Regions from separate parts of the Homo sapiens genome. Here region 1 is linked to region 2. Evidence: promoter capture Hi-C in 16 types of primary human blood cells and fetal thymus (Javierre and others, 2016). All regions are on one chromosome and are shown on one strand. The core of a region is centred on a gene start or on the middle of the fragment in contact, and the rest is flanking DNA. Distances in the headings are between cores, read along the strand shown. Region 1 has its middle 34 kb from the start of SNX12. Region 2 holds the start of MED12 (mediator complex subunit 12).

Region 1 (6,757 bases), core at 2,944-5,443, 85 kb after region 2:
AGAGTCTCGCTCTGTCATCCAGGCTGGAGGGTAGTGGCACAATCTTGGCTCACTGCAACCTCCGCCTCCTGGGTTTAAGCGATTCTTCTGCCTTAGCCTCCCGTGTAGCTGGGACTACAGGTGTGTGCCACCATGCCCGGCTAATTTTTGTATTTTTAGTAGAGACGGGGTTTCACCATGTTGGCCAGGCTGGTCTCGAGCCCCTGACCTCAGGTGATCCCCCCCTATCAGCCTCCCAAAGTGCTGGGATTACAGGCCTGAGCCGCTGTGCCCGGCCCAAACTTTATTTTTGACATTTTTATTGTTTCACTACACATAGCACCAACTCATTTTATTTTATTTTATTTTATTTTACTTATTTTGAGATGGAGTCTTGCTCTGTAGCCCAGGCTGGAGTGCAGTAGCATGATCTCAGCTCACTGCAACCTCCGCCTCCCAGTTTCAAGCGATTCTTCCTCCTCAGTCTCCCAAGTAGCTGGGATTACAGGTGCCTGCCGCCACACCCAGCTAATTTTTTGTATTTTTAGTAGAGATGGGGTTTCACCATGTTGACCAGCCTGGTCTCGAACTCCCGACCTCAGGTGATCTGCCCGCTTCAGCCTCCCAAAGTGCTGGGATTACAGGTGTGAGCCACCTCGCCGGCCAACTCATTGATTTTAACAGGTGCATGGTGTTCCATTGTATACATGGACCATTATTTCATTTTGCCAGATTCACTGTACAGGCATTGTTCTAATGTTTGACTGTTGCAAATACTACTGCATTCTTTTTTGTGCATAGATTATATGTAAAACAATACTCTTTGTACATAAATCTTTGTGTGTCTCTGTGAGTATTACTGTGGGATAAATTTTTAGAAATGGATTGCTGTGTGAAATGATAAACATATTTACAATTTTAGTAGTATAGTCATATAGCCCTATAGAATCTACCAATTTACACTCCACTAACAGTATATAAAAATGTGTTTTCCCCATATACTTGCCAGAATTAGGTCGTTTTTCAATCTTTATCATTTATCAATCATTTTTTCATCCTTATCAACATGATAGGTGAAAAATATCTTGTTTAACTTATTTTTCTTTATTTCATGCTGTTTTTAATCCTTTTTTTCACTCAACAGTACGTTTTGGACATTTTTCTATGTCAATGAATATAGATTACACTATTGTTTTAAGTGGCTTTGTAAGGTGGGCACAGTGGTATGGTGCCTGTAGTCTCAGCTCTTTGGGAGGCTGAGGTGGAAAGATCGCTTGAGTCCAGGAGTTCAAGGCTGTAGTGCCCTATGGTCATGTCTGTGAATAGCCTGGACAACGTAGTGAGATCCCATTTCTTAAAAAATAAAAAAAGGCTGTATAGCATTTCATTGTGAGAATGTAATATTATTTTATTTTATTTATTTTCGAGACAGACTCTCATTACATCACCCAGGCTGGAATGCAGTGGCACGATCTCAGCTCACTGCAACCTCTGCTTCCCAGGTTCAAGCAATTCTTGTGCCTCAGCCTCCCAAGTAGTTGGGATTAAAGGGATGTGCCACCATGCTCAGCTAATTTTTGTATTTTTAGTAGAGATGGGATTTTGCCATGTTGGTCAGGCTGGTCTTGAACTCCTGGCTTCAAATGATCCACCTGCCTTGGCCTCCCAAAGTGCTGGGATTACAGGCATGAGCCACTGTACCTGGCCTTGCTCAGCATAATGTTTTTGAGATTTATCCATGTTATTGTGTGTATCAAGTTTGTTCCTTTTCAGTGCTGAGTAGCATTCTATTGTATGACTATGCTAGTTTATCCATTCTGTTCTTTTTTTTTTTTTTTTTTTTTTTTTTTTGAGACAGAGTCTTGCTGTGTCTTGCCCAGGCTGGAGTGCAGTGGCATGATCTCGGCTCACTGTAGCCTCCACCTCCCAGATTCAAACGATTCTCCTGTCTCAGCCTCCTGAGTAGCTGGGACTACAGGTATGTGCTACCACACCCAGCTAATTTTGTACTTTTTAGTAGAGATGGGGTTTCACCATGTTGGCCAGGCTGGTCTCAAACTCCTGACCTTAGGTCCTGCCTTGGCCTCCCAAAGTGCTGGGATTACAGGCATGAGCCGCCGTAACCAGCGTATCCATTCTATTATTGATGGACATTTGGATTATTTACAGTTTTTGGCTACTATGAATAAAGCTGAAGTAAACATTCTGGTACAAGTCTTTTTATAAACATATGCTTCCTTTTTTTTTTTTTTTTTGTAAATACCTAGAAGTGGAATTGCTAGACTATAGGATAGATGTGTATTTAAATTTATAAGAAACTTCTAAGTAATTCTCTAAACAGGTTGTACCATTTTTTATTCCCACTAGCAATATATGAGAATTCTAGTAGTTTTTCATTCTCTCGAACACTTGGTATGGTCAGTCTTTTAACATTTTAGCCATTCTGGTGGGTGTGTAGTAGTATCTCATTGTAGTTTTTTTTTTTTTTTTTTCCAAAGATAGGATCCCAGGCTGGAGTGCAGTAGTACAAATAGCTGGGACTACAGGCCATGCCACCACACCCAGCTAATTTTTGCTTTGTTTTTTGTAGAGGCAGGGCTTCACCATGTTGCCCAGGCTGGTCTGGAACTCTTGGGCTCAAGTGATCCACCTGCCTCGGCCTCCCAAAATGCTCAGATTACAGGTGTGAGCCACTGTGCCTGGCTCATTGTAGTTTTAATATGCATTTCCCTGAGTATTAATGATGTCAAGCACTTTTTCATGTGCTTATTGACCATTCAAATATCTTTGCTAAATATCTATTCAAATCTTTTGTCCATTTTAAAGTTGGATTAAATCCATTTTTAAATGATTGATTTGTAAGAGTTCTTTATATATTCTGCTTACAAGTCCTTTGTCAGATATATGTTTTTCAAGTATTTTCTCTTAGTCTGTGCTTGCCTATTCATTTTCTTAATAGTAGTTTTTCATGAGAAGATTTTAAAATTCAGTGAATTCTAATTTATCATTTTTTTTTCTTTTATGACTATAGCTTTCTGTGTTCTAAAAGATCTTTGTTTATCCCTAAGTCCCAAAGATTCTCTTCTGGATTTTCTTCTAGAAGCTTTAGAGTTTTAGCATTTATATTATATGTTTAGTGTCATGATCCATCTTCAGTTGGTTTTTGGGTGTGATGTGGGGTTGGGGTTGAGGTTTATTTTTCCCAAATGAATATCCAGTTATTCTAGCACCATTTGTTGAAAAGACTTTCCTTTCCCCAATTCAACATTGCTTGATCAAAAATCAATGACTTTATATGTGCAAGTTTATTTCTGGGCTCTGTATTTTGTGCCATTGATCTATTTATCTATTAAGTACTGTAGTTTTATAGTAAGTCTTAATGTCAGGAATATAGGTCTTCCAACTTTGCTGTTGTTTTTCAAGATCGTTTTGGATATTTTAGATCCTTTCCATTTCCATATACATTTTAGAATCAGTTTGTCCATTTCTCTTTAAAAAACCTGGTAGTATTATGACTGCTCTTGTATTGAATCTATAGAAGAATTCTGGGAGGATTTACATCTTAACAATATTGTGTCTTCTAACTCATGATCATGGTATATCTATTTATTTCAGGTTTTTATTTGTTTTTTAAAGATGGAGTTTCACTCTGTCACCCAGGCTGGAGTGCAGTGGCATAACTATGGCTCACTGCAGCCTCAACCACCCGGGCTCAAGCGATCCTCCCACTTCAGCCTCCCAAGTAGCTGGGACCACAGGTGTGTGCCACCATGCCTGAACAAGTTTTTTTGGTAGAGATGGGGTTTCACTGTGTTGCCCAGGCTGGTCTTGAACTCCTGGGCTCAAGTGATCTGCCTGCCTCGACCTCCCAAAGTGCTGGGATTACAGGCATGAGCCACCATGCCCAGCCTATTTATTTCAGTCTTGTAAAATTCCTCTTAGCAATGTTATGTAGTTTTCAATGTAGAAGTTCCTGGATGGATTTTGCTGAATATTATCAAATGCCTTCTAGAAAGGTTGTATCAGTTTACCTTACCACCAATACTACATTTTCTTTTCTTTTCTTTCCTTCCTTCCTTTCTTTCTTTCTTCCTTCCTTCCTTCCTTCCTTTTTTTTTTTTGAGATGGAGTTTTGCACTTGTCCCCCACGCTGGAGTGCAATGGCATGATCTCAGCTCACTGCAACCCCCGCCTCCCCACTTCAAGCGATTCTGCTGCCTCAGCCTCCAGAGTAGCTGGGATTACAGGCGCCTGCCACCACGCCCAGGTAATTTTTTGTATTTTTAGTAGAGACGGGGTTTCACCATGTTGGCCAGGCTGGCCTCGAACTCCTGACCTCAGGTGATCCACCTGCCTTGGCCTCCCAAAGTGCTGGGATTACAGGTGTGAGCCACTGTGCTTGGTCTGTTTTCTTATACTCTCATCAACACTGGGTTTTATGTCTTTTTATTCTGTGCCAATCCTAATAGGTGAAAAATTATATATCAGTTTTTTTGTGGGCTTTTTTTTTTTTTGATGGAGTCTCACTCTGTGGTGGCCCAGGCTGGAGTGCAGTGGTGCGATCTTGGCTCACTGCAATCTCTGCCTCCTGTGTTCAAGTGATTCTCCTGCCTCAGCCTACTGAGTAGCTGGGATTACAGGTGCAGGCCACCACGCCCAGCTAATTTTTATATTTTTAGTAGAGATGGGGTTTTGCCATGTTGGCCAGGCTGGTCTCAAACTCCTGACCTTAGGTGATCTGCCCATCTCGGCCTCCCAAAATGCTGGAATTACAGGCCTGAGCCACCGTGCCAAACCTATATTTCAGTTTTATTGGCATTTCTTTTATTACTGGTGAGGTTTGCACATACTGTATTTATTGACTATTTGTATATAATTTATCATGAATTGACTGTTCTTTGTGCATTTGTCTATTGGGGTGTTCATCTTTTTCATGTTGATATGCAATGATTTGTAAAAGTTTTTTGTATGTTAGGGAAATATATATGTGTGTAACTAGAGAAGTAGGTAGTATTGCCTTTACAACATAAAGAGATTAAGGCTGAGAAAAGCTAAATGACTTGGTTCAAGATCATACAAATAATAAATGATAGAGCAAGGATTTGAATCCTGGTCTATGTGACACAAAATACCATGTTATTTCTATTACAGAAAGCCTATTTTTAATCTGTTAGTAGCTTTTCTAAGTCTTAAAAATTATTTAATATTATTGTCTCCTTTGCTAAAAGCCTTAGTTTTAGAATTTATCTCTTGCTGATGGCCTTGTTAGAACTTTAGAGAACATTTAGTATAGTTTTCTGTCTTTTTTAATCATTCAAAGCTTTTAAAAACTTCAAAATTATTTCAAACTTAAAGAAAAGTTACAGTAATATTACAAAGAACTTCCACTTACCCTTAACCCAGATTCATATATTTTTAACATGTTGCCACATTTGCTTTATCATTCTATCTCTATCTTTATCTATTTTTTCTCTGAATCAGAATAACCTGGAGACATAAGGCCCCTATACTCCTAAATACTTCAGCATATCTTTCCTGAGAACAGGGACATCCTCTTACAAAACCACAGCATAATGATCAAAATCAGGAAAATTAACATTGATGTAATACCACTGCTGTCCACATTCAGCTTTTACCTCTTGTCCTAATAATTTCCTTTATAGCATTTTTCCCCAGTCCAGAATACAGTCCAGGATTATACATTGAATTTAGTTGTCATGTCACTTTAATTGCCTTTAATTTGGAGTAGTTTCTCAGCTTTTCTTTGTCTTTCCTGACATTGACACTTTTGAAGAGTACAGGCCAGATATTTTGTATAATGTTCCTTAGTTTGGGTTTGTCTAATGTTTCCTCATGATTAGATTCAGATTATGCTTCTTTTTGTAGGAATATCACAGAAGTGATGTGTTCTCAGTGCATTGGCAACAGGAGGTACATGATATCACTTTGCCCCATTATTGGTGATATTAACTTTGACTACTTGGTTAAAGTAGGGTCTGCCAGGTTTCTCCACTCTAAAGTTACCATTTTTACCTTTGTAATAAATATGCAATTTGTGGGGGGACACTTTGAGACTGTATAAAATGTCCTATTCCATATCAAAGTCTCAGCCAATAGATTTTAACATTCATTGATTATTGCCTGAATCAGTTATTACTATTATATTTCAAAAATGGTGATTTTCTAAATACATCATTAGTTCTACACTTATTTGCTGGCATTCAATTGTAAAGAAGAGCTTTCCTTTTACCCTATGTATTGATTAATTAATTGATTATCAGTATGGACTCATGGATTCTTACTTATTACATGAGTTATAACGTTTTACTGTTTATTTTGATGCTCTAATTGGCCCAGATTTGGTCAGTGGGAGCTTCTTCAAGCTGGTTTCTGTGTCCATTGACATGCCTCCATCATTCTTTGGCACTTTCTTACTTTCTGGGACAACAGGAATATTTCAGGCTTATCATGTATTTTCCTGGCCCTAACCTTGGAATCAGCTATTTCTCCAAGGAAGCCTGGCTCCCTTAAGTGGGGAATGATATTTAGCAACCAGGATCTCTGTGCTGGGGTATACTTATTGCTACTGAGGTGTCATCACTTTGGGGCTCCTTTAGCTGAGAGACCTAGGATTTATCCCAGGCTTTTGAATCCCTTCCAATATCTCCACCAAGTGAGTTTAGATCTGTGCTTGAATACTTCATTATTTGAGGAAATTGCTCGAGAGACAGTCTCCTTCATTATTGGGCAACCCTTTATATTTGAAAACAGTGGCCAT
Region 2 (6,699 bases), core at 1,216-3,715:
AGCCCCCACTTCCTGCAGGCCCTGGCCGGTAGTATTCAGCCATCTTCTGTAACTGCTCCCATAAGTACTTGGTGATGATCTGAGTCCATTCTGGAGGAAAGAGGGAAAAAGGGCTATTTGATACTATCCTTCTGCTTAGAATATCCTTCTACTGGCTGGGTGCGGTGGCTCATGCCTGTAATCCCAGCACTTTGGGAGGCTGAGGCAGGTGGATCACGAGGTCAGGAGTTCGAGACCAGCCTGGCCAAGATGGTGAAACCCCGTCTCTAGAAAAATACAAAAATTAGCCGGGCGCAGTGGTGGGCGCCTGTAATCCCAGCTACTCGGGAGGCTGAGACAGGAGAATCACTTTAACCCGGGAGGTGGAGGTTGCAGTAAGCCAAGATCCTGCCACTGCACTCTAGCCTGGGTGACAGAGTCTTGCTCTGTCTCAAAAAAAAAAAAATCCTTCTACTTAGAATACCTTACCCCCACCCCTAATCACCATATTTGTAAATTCAGTTCATCCTTTTAGTCTCTAGTCAAATCCCACCTTCCTAAAGCCTTTCCGGGTACCCCCATAAGAAAGTAATCTTTTGTCCACTCAAAGAACCTTCTGCTCCTAGCTTGACATTCACCACTTTCTATATTTAATTATGTTATTTGTACATATACCTTAGCAGCCCTGTTAGACTACTAGTATCCTAGGGGCAGAGATTATGCACCGGACATCTTTGTAGCCCAGTATATGCGCACAGTAGACACTCAAATTTCTCAGTGTTTACTGATCAAACAAATGCAAGAAACAAGCAGAAACAAGGAATCTAGATTAAGAAGGAGGATGGTTCCAAGGGTGTCTCTATCACTCCTTGAAGCCATCAGCAGTACACCTGGTGTTAGGAGTTACTCACCCATGAAAGGGTCAACATGTCTCTTCTTAACCTTGGTCTCAGAGATTGCTGCATAGTAGGCACAGGTCATCTTAATGAGCCAGGCAGCCCGCATCACAGGCACTGTGTATTTGGCTAAGTACCCAAACACCTCTTCCTTCTTACTGAAAATGGGGACCTGGATGGACATTGCAAATAGTGAGGTCTCTATTATCCCCATGAGCTGACACCCATGTAGCTTAATATGGGAATAGGAGGGTACTTGGTACCCCATGCTCCCTCCTTGGCCTGAAGGACAGGAAACAGTACCTTACCTTTTTGGCTAGTTGCGTGAGTGGCTTGGTGCCAGCCAAGTCAGTGAACCAAGTGTTAATGGCACTCTGGGATCGTGCAGTCACCAGCCAGAAGTTATCCTTCTGGTTCACTTGGGGCTTCCTGCGACCAGTGTCAGGAAGGGTATTACAACGTAATTTCTCTGCAATAATGCTGCTGAAGTTGGAACTGATCTGAGGGAAGAAAAGTGTACCTCAGGGTGGGAAGAAGGGGCAGACAGGTGGTCCTGCCTTTTGCTGGGCAAATGCCAATGAGATAGTATTAGGTCATGAAGGCAAACTCAGCCACTTAGGTTGTCCCTATAAGTCTTCCCAACCCAGGGCCTTTGCTCCTTCTTAGATTCTTCCAGCCTTTTCCTTCAGCCTGGCAGAGTTGTCTCACCTTGGCAGGATTGAAGCTGACGTTCTTGGCACTGCCATGCTCATCCCCAGAGACAGCAGGCTGGTTATTGAAACCTTGTTTTACATTCAAGGCCGTCAGTTCATCCTGAGGCAGGAAAGCGGCGTTTAGTTGTTTTTTCCTTAGGGGAAGGGGGAAGGGGTGGGAGAGTAGGGCAGGAGAAAAGAAGGAACAAGGTGAAAGGGCAGGAGGAGGGTTCCGTGTAGAACAGATCGTTACTTAAAGCTGGGCCCTTACGTTCACTTGGACCCCACCCTCACTCCCATGGTCACTAGGATTCCCAGCCACCCAGCGCGCCCTCAAACATCACTCTTCTCTTGCGAACAGCCGAGCAGCCGTACCCCACCAAGCTGTCTCAGACAACTTTCTGAGGTGTGTGTGGAGGAGGGCGCCTCTGGTGCGGCCCCTACACCACCCCCTATTCATACCTTGGAACCCCCCACCGCCCCCCGTCCTGCCCTCCCACGCCAGCCCACTTTACTCTTCCCCCTTTCGGGACTTTTGCTCTCACCGAACCGCCCCGCCCCCCATTCCCAGCCGTCAGTGCCTCCTCCTAGGCTGACCGCGTGCCCCCGGCCCCTCCAGAGCCCCGATTTTCGAACGCACCTCCTTCTGTTTGGGGTCCTGAGGGTAAACATCGGGAGGCCCCAGCCGCGGCCGCTTCAGGGGCCGGTGTTCGTAGCTCAAGATCCCGAAGGCCGCCATCTTGCCCAGCCCGTAGCGCCGGAGGCACCAGCAGGGCCAGGCTGACTGGGGGAACGGGAAGGGGGAGAGGGAGCCGAAAAGGGGGGCGGTGGTTGAGAGGACGGCGGCCGAGAGACAACAAGGGGGCACGTTAGAAACTCTCGACCATTGCCGGAAACTACCGAGGGAAGCCGAGGTACGCCGGGAACCATCGGACAATACCGACTGCAGAGGAGGTGGGGCCTGGCCCGGTGGGGGCGGAGCTCTGTGCCCCGGGAGTTTTTCGGCGGTGGCGGCAGCAAGTCGATTTCACTCAGCAAAAATCTATGAAACGTTCCGGAGGCGCAGAATGAGCTGGGGATGCAAACCAGGGAAGAAGGAGGCCTCTGTGGTGCTGAGTTCTGACTGGACTTCGGTTCCCATAGCCTAGCTCGGTTTTGGCCTAGAAAAGTCTTCAATAATATTTGCATTGGTTAGGAACTCCGTCTATTACAGATCAGTTCGTTTCTTAGTTCCGGCATCTGAAAAATAGGTGCGCTAACACCTCCTTCAAGGGGCTATTGTGAACATTAGAAACTATGTATGCATGAGAAAGAACCTATTAAACCCTGAAAGGCTGGCTCTAATCCCTCAAGGTCTACCATCGAGTTGTCTAACCTTTTCTTGTTTGTTTTTCTGCCCAAGGGTACCGCATACTAACGTTTTTGATTCACAAACCCTTAAAGGTGCTGATGAAAGCTATGGACCTTCTTCCCAGAAATAATAATAATAATAATAATAATATGCATATATTGACATGCAAAATGTTGCTTTAGATTCTTAGATCCCCTGAAGTTCATCCATGTATCCCCTAAGGGTCCATGAACTCCAGGTTAAGAACCCTTGGTCTAGCTAAAGAGGCACCTATTGTGTCAGATGCTTTTCAGACACTATCTCCTTTAATCTGCTCACAGCCTCATGAGTTAGGGATTATTATTGGCTCGATTTTGCGGATGGAGGAAGCTGGTTTTCAAAGTGTGAAAATTCACTTATCCAATATTATACAGCTACTGAGTAACAGAGCTGGCACTAAGATTCTGAATTCCAGAGCCAATATCCTATTGTCGTATTGCTATTTGTTTATTTTGAGGCAGGTTCTCCCTCTGTCGCCTAGGCTGGAGTGCAGTGGCGCTATCACGGCTCACTGCAGCATCAACCTTCTGGACTCCAGCGATCCTCCCGCCTCAGCCTCCCAGTAGCCTGGACTACAGGCGTGCGCCACTGTGCCGGCCTTGTATTGCCTTTTAGAGAAAAGACAGCCAGTGTGCTGTAACAAAAGTAACAAATAACAATAAACAAAAATAACACCAGTAACAAAAATAACAAAATGCTATTGAATCACAATGGAAAGAAGAAGTAATTCAAGGCGGGGAGTGGTGGCTCACGTCCGTAATCCCAGCACTTTGGGAGGCCAAGGCAGGGAATCACCTGAGGTCAGGAGTTCAAGACCAGCCTGGCCAACGTGGTGAAATCCCATCTCTACTAAAAATACAAAAATTAGCTTGTGTGGTGGCAGGCGCCTGTAATGCCAGCTGCTCAGGAGGCTGAGGTAACATTTGAACTAACTCTGAAGGATATTTTTATTTTATTTTATTTTTTATTTTATTTATTGTTTTGAGACGGAGTCTCACTCTTGTTGCCCAGGCTGGAGTGCAGTGGCGTGATCTCGGTTCACTGCAACCTCCGCCTCCCAGGTTCAAGTGATTCTCTTGCCTCAGCCTCCCCAGTAGCTGGGATTACAGGCTTGCGCCATCATGCCTAGCTAATTTCTGTATTTTTAGTAGAGACGGGGTTTCTCCATGTTGGCCAGGCTGGTGTCAAACTCGTGACCTCAAGTGATCCGCCCACCTCGGCCTCCCAAAGTGCTGGGATTACAGGCGTGAGCCACCACGCTCAGCCTGAACGATATTTTATTTATTTATTTATTTATTTATTTATTTATTTATTTATTTTGAGACTGAGTTTCGCTCTTGTTGCCCAGGCTGGAGTGCAATGGCGCAATCTCGGCTTACTGCAACCTCTGCCTCCCTGGTTCAAGCGATTCTCCTGCCTCAGCCTCCCGAGTAGCTGGGATTACAGGCATGCACCACCATGCCCAGCTAAATATTTTTTTGTTGTTGTATTTTTAGTAGAGACGGGGTTTCTCTATGTTGGTCAGGCTGGTCTCGAACTCCCGACCTCAGGTGATCCACCTGCCTCCACCTCTCAAAGTGTTGGGATTACAGGCGTGAGCCACCAACCTGAAGGATATTTTTAAAAAGATAATTTTTCTTTTCTTTCTTTTTTTTTCTTTTTTTTTTTTTTTTGACAAGGTCTCACTCAGTGGCCCAGGCTAGACTGCAGTGGTGCAATCTCACTTCACTGCAACCTCTACCTCCTGGGCTCAAGCAAACCTCCCACCTCAGCCTCCCAAGTATCTAGGATCACAGGCGCTGGCCACCACACCCGGTTAATTTTTGCTTTTTTTTTTTTTTTTTTTTTTTGGTGGAGACAGGGTTTTGCTATGTTGCCCAGGCTGGACTTAAACTCCTGGTCTCTAGCGATCCACCCACCTCAGCCTCTGAAAGTGCTGGGATTACAGGCATGAGCCACAGCACCCAGCATAAAAGAATTTTTTAGAGCAGTTTTAGATTCACAGCAAAATTGAGAGGAAGGTATGGAGAATTCCCATATACTGTCTGCCCTCACACATAGATAAACTCCCCCATTGACATCCCCCACCAGAGTGGGCCAGGCATGGTGGCTCATGCCTGTAATCCCACCACTTTGGGAGGCCGAGATGGGTGGATTGCTTGAGCCCAGGAGTTCTAGACCAGCCTGGGCAACATGGTAGAACCTCTATCTCTCCAAAAGCAAAATAAAACATTAGCAGGGTTTAGGGGCGGGCGCCTGTAGTCCCAGCTACTCTGGAGGCCGAGGGGAGAGAATCACTCGATCTCAGGAGGTGGACGCTGCAGTAAGCCATGATGACCCCACTGCACTTCAGCCTGGGCAACAGAGTGAAACTCTGTCTCAAAACAAAACAAAACAAAACAAAACAACAACAACAACAACAACAACAACAACAAACCCACCAGAATGGTATATTCGTTAGAGTTGATGGACCTACCTTGAACATCATTACCCAAAGTTCATGGTTTACGTTAAAGTTCACTCTTGATGTTATTTTATACAGTCTGTGAGTTTGGACAAAGAATAACATGTGTCCACCATTGTAGTATCTTACAGAATATTTTCACTGACCTAAAAACTTTTTCTGCTCCACCTATTCATCCTTCCCTCTCCGACAACCCCTGGCAACCGTTGATCTTTTTACTGTCTCCATAGTTTCGCCCTTTCCAGAATGTCATATAGTTGGAATCCTATAGTAGGTGGCCTTTTCTGCATGGCTTCTTTCACTTAGTCATATGTATTTAAGTTTTCTCCCATGTCTCTTCACGGCCTTAATAGCTCATTTCTTTTTGCACCGAATAATATTTCACTTTCAGGATGTACCACAGTTTATCCATAAACCTACTGAAAGACACCTTCGTTGCTTCCAAGTTTGGGCAATTATGAATGAAACTGCTATAAACATCCGTCTGCAGGTTTTTATGTGAACACAAGTCTTCCACTCCTTTGTTTTTTTTTTTTTTTTTTTTTTTTTTGAGACGAAGTTTCGCTCTGTCGCCCAGGCTGGAGTGCAGTGGCGCGATCTCGACTCACTGCAAGCTCCACCTCCCGGGTTCACGCCATTCTCCTGCCTCAGCCTCCTGTGTAGCTGGGACTACAGGCACGCGCCACCATGCCCGGCTAATTTTTGTATTTTTAGTAGAGACGGGGTTTCACCGTGTTAGCCAGGATGGTCTCGATCTCCTGACCTCGTGATCCGCCCGTCTCAGCCTCCCAAAGTGCTGGGATTACAGGCGTGAGCCACCGCGCCCGGCCTCCACTCCTTTGTTAATACCAAGGAACATGATTGCTGAAAGAGTATGTTTAGTTTTATAGGAAACTGCCAAACCGTCTTCCCCAGTGGCTGTACCGTACCATTTTTGCATTTCCCCCAGCAACAAGTGAGAGTTGTTCCTGTTGCTCCACATCCTTGCCAGCATTTGGTGTAGTCCGTGTTCCGGATTTGGGCAATTTTTTTTTTTTTTTTTGAGACAGGGTCTCACTCTGTCACCCAGACTGGAGTGCAGTGGTGCAATCTCAGCTCACTGCAACCTCCGCCTCCCAGGCTCAAGCAGTTCTCCTGCCTTAGCCTCTCAAGTAGCTGGGATTACAGGAATGCGCCACTATTGCCTGGCTAATTTTTGTATTTTTTAGTAGAGACGGGGTTTCACCATGTAGGCCAGGCTGGTCTTGAACTCCTGACCTCAAATGATCCACTCACCTT

What was found. The method cuts DNA at HindIII sites, captures the fragments that hold promoters and counts their contacts. A CHiCAGO score of 5 or more calls a contact.
Region 1: a contact is called between a fragment that was not itself captured here and the fragment with the promoter of MED12 in region 2, in 1 of 17 cell types (neutrophils). The highest score is 5.7, in neutrophils.

What each region holds. Positions count from the first base shown.
Region 1 is chrX:71,031,448-71,038,204 of GRCh38, reverse strand. No RefSeq gene overlaps it. Among named protein-coding and RNA genes, the nearest start is that of SNX12, 34 kb to the left of the region's middle. The HindIII fragment of the contact is 2,217 bases long and covers 3,085-5,301 here.
Region 2 is chrX:71,114,362-71,121,060 of GRCh38, reverse strand. MED12 (mediator complex subunit 12) reads right to left here and starts at 2,465. Exons shown (of 45, transcript NM_005120.3): 1 at 2,208-2,465; 2 at 1,584-1,688; 3 at 1,184-1,375; 4 at 891-1,047; 5 at 1-90. The coding sequence starts at 2,306. The HindIII fragment of the contact is 19,646 bases long and covers 1-6,699 here.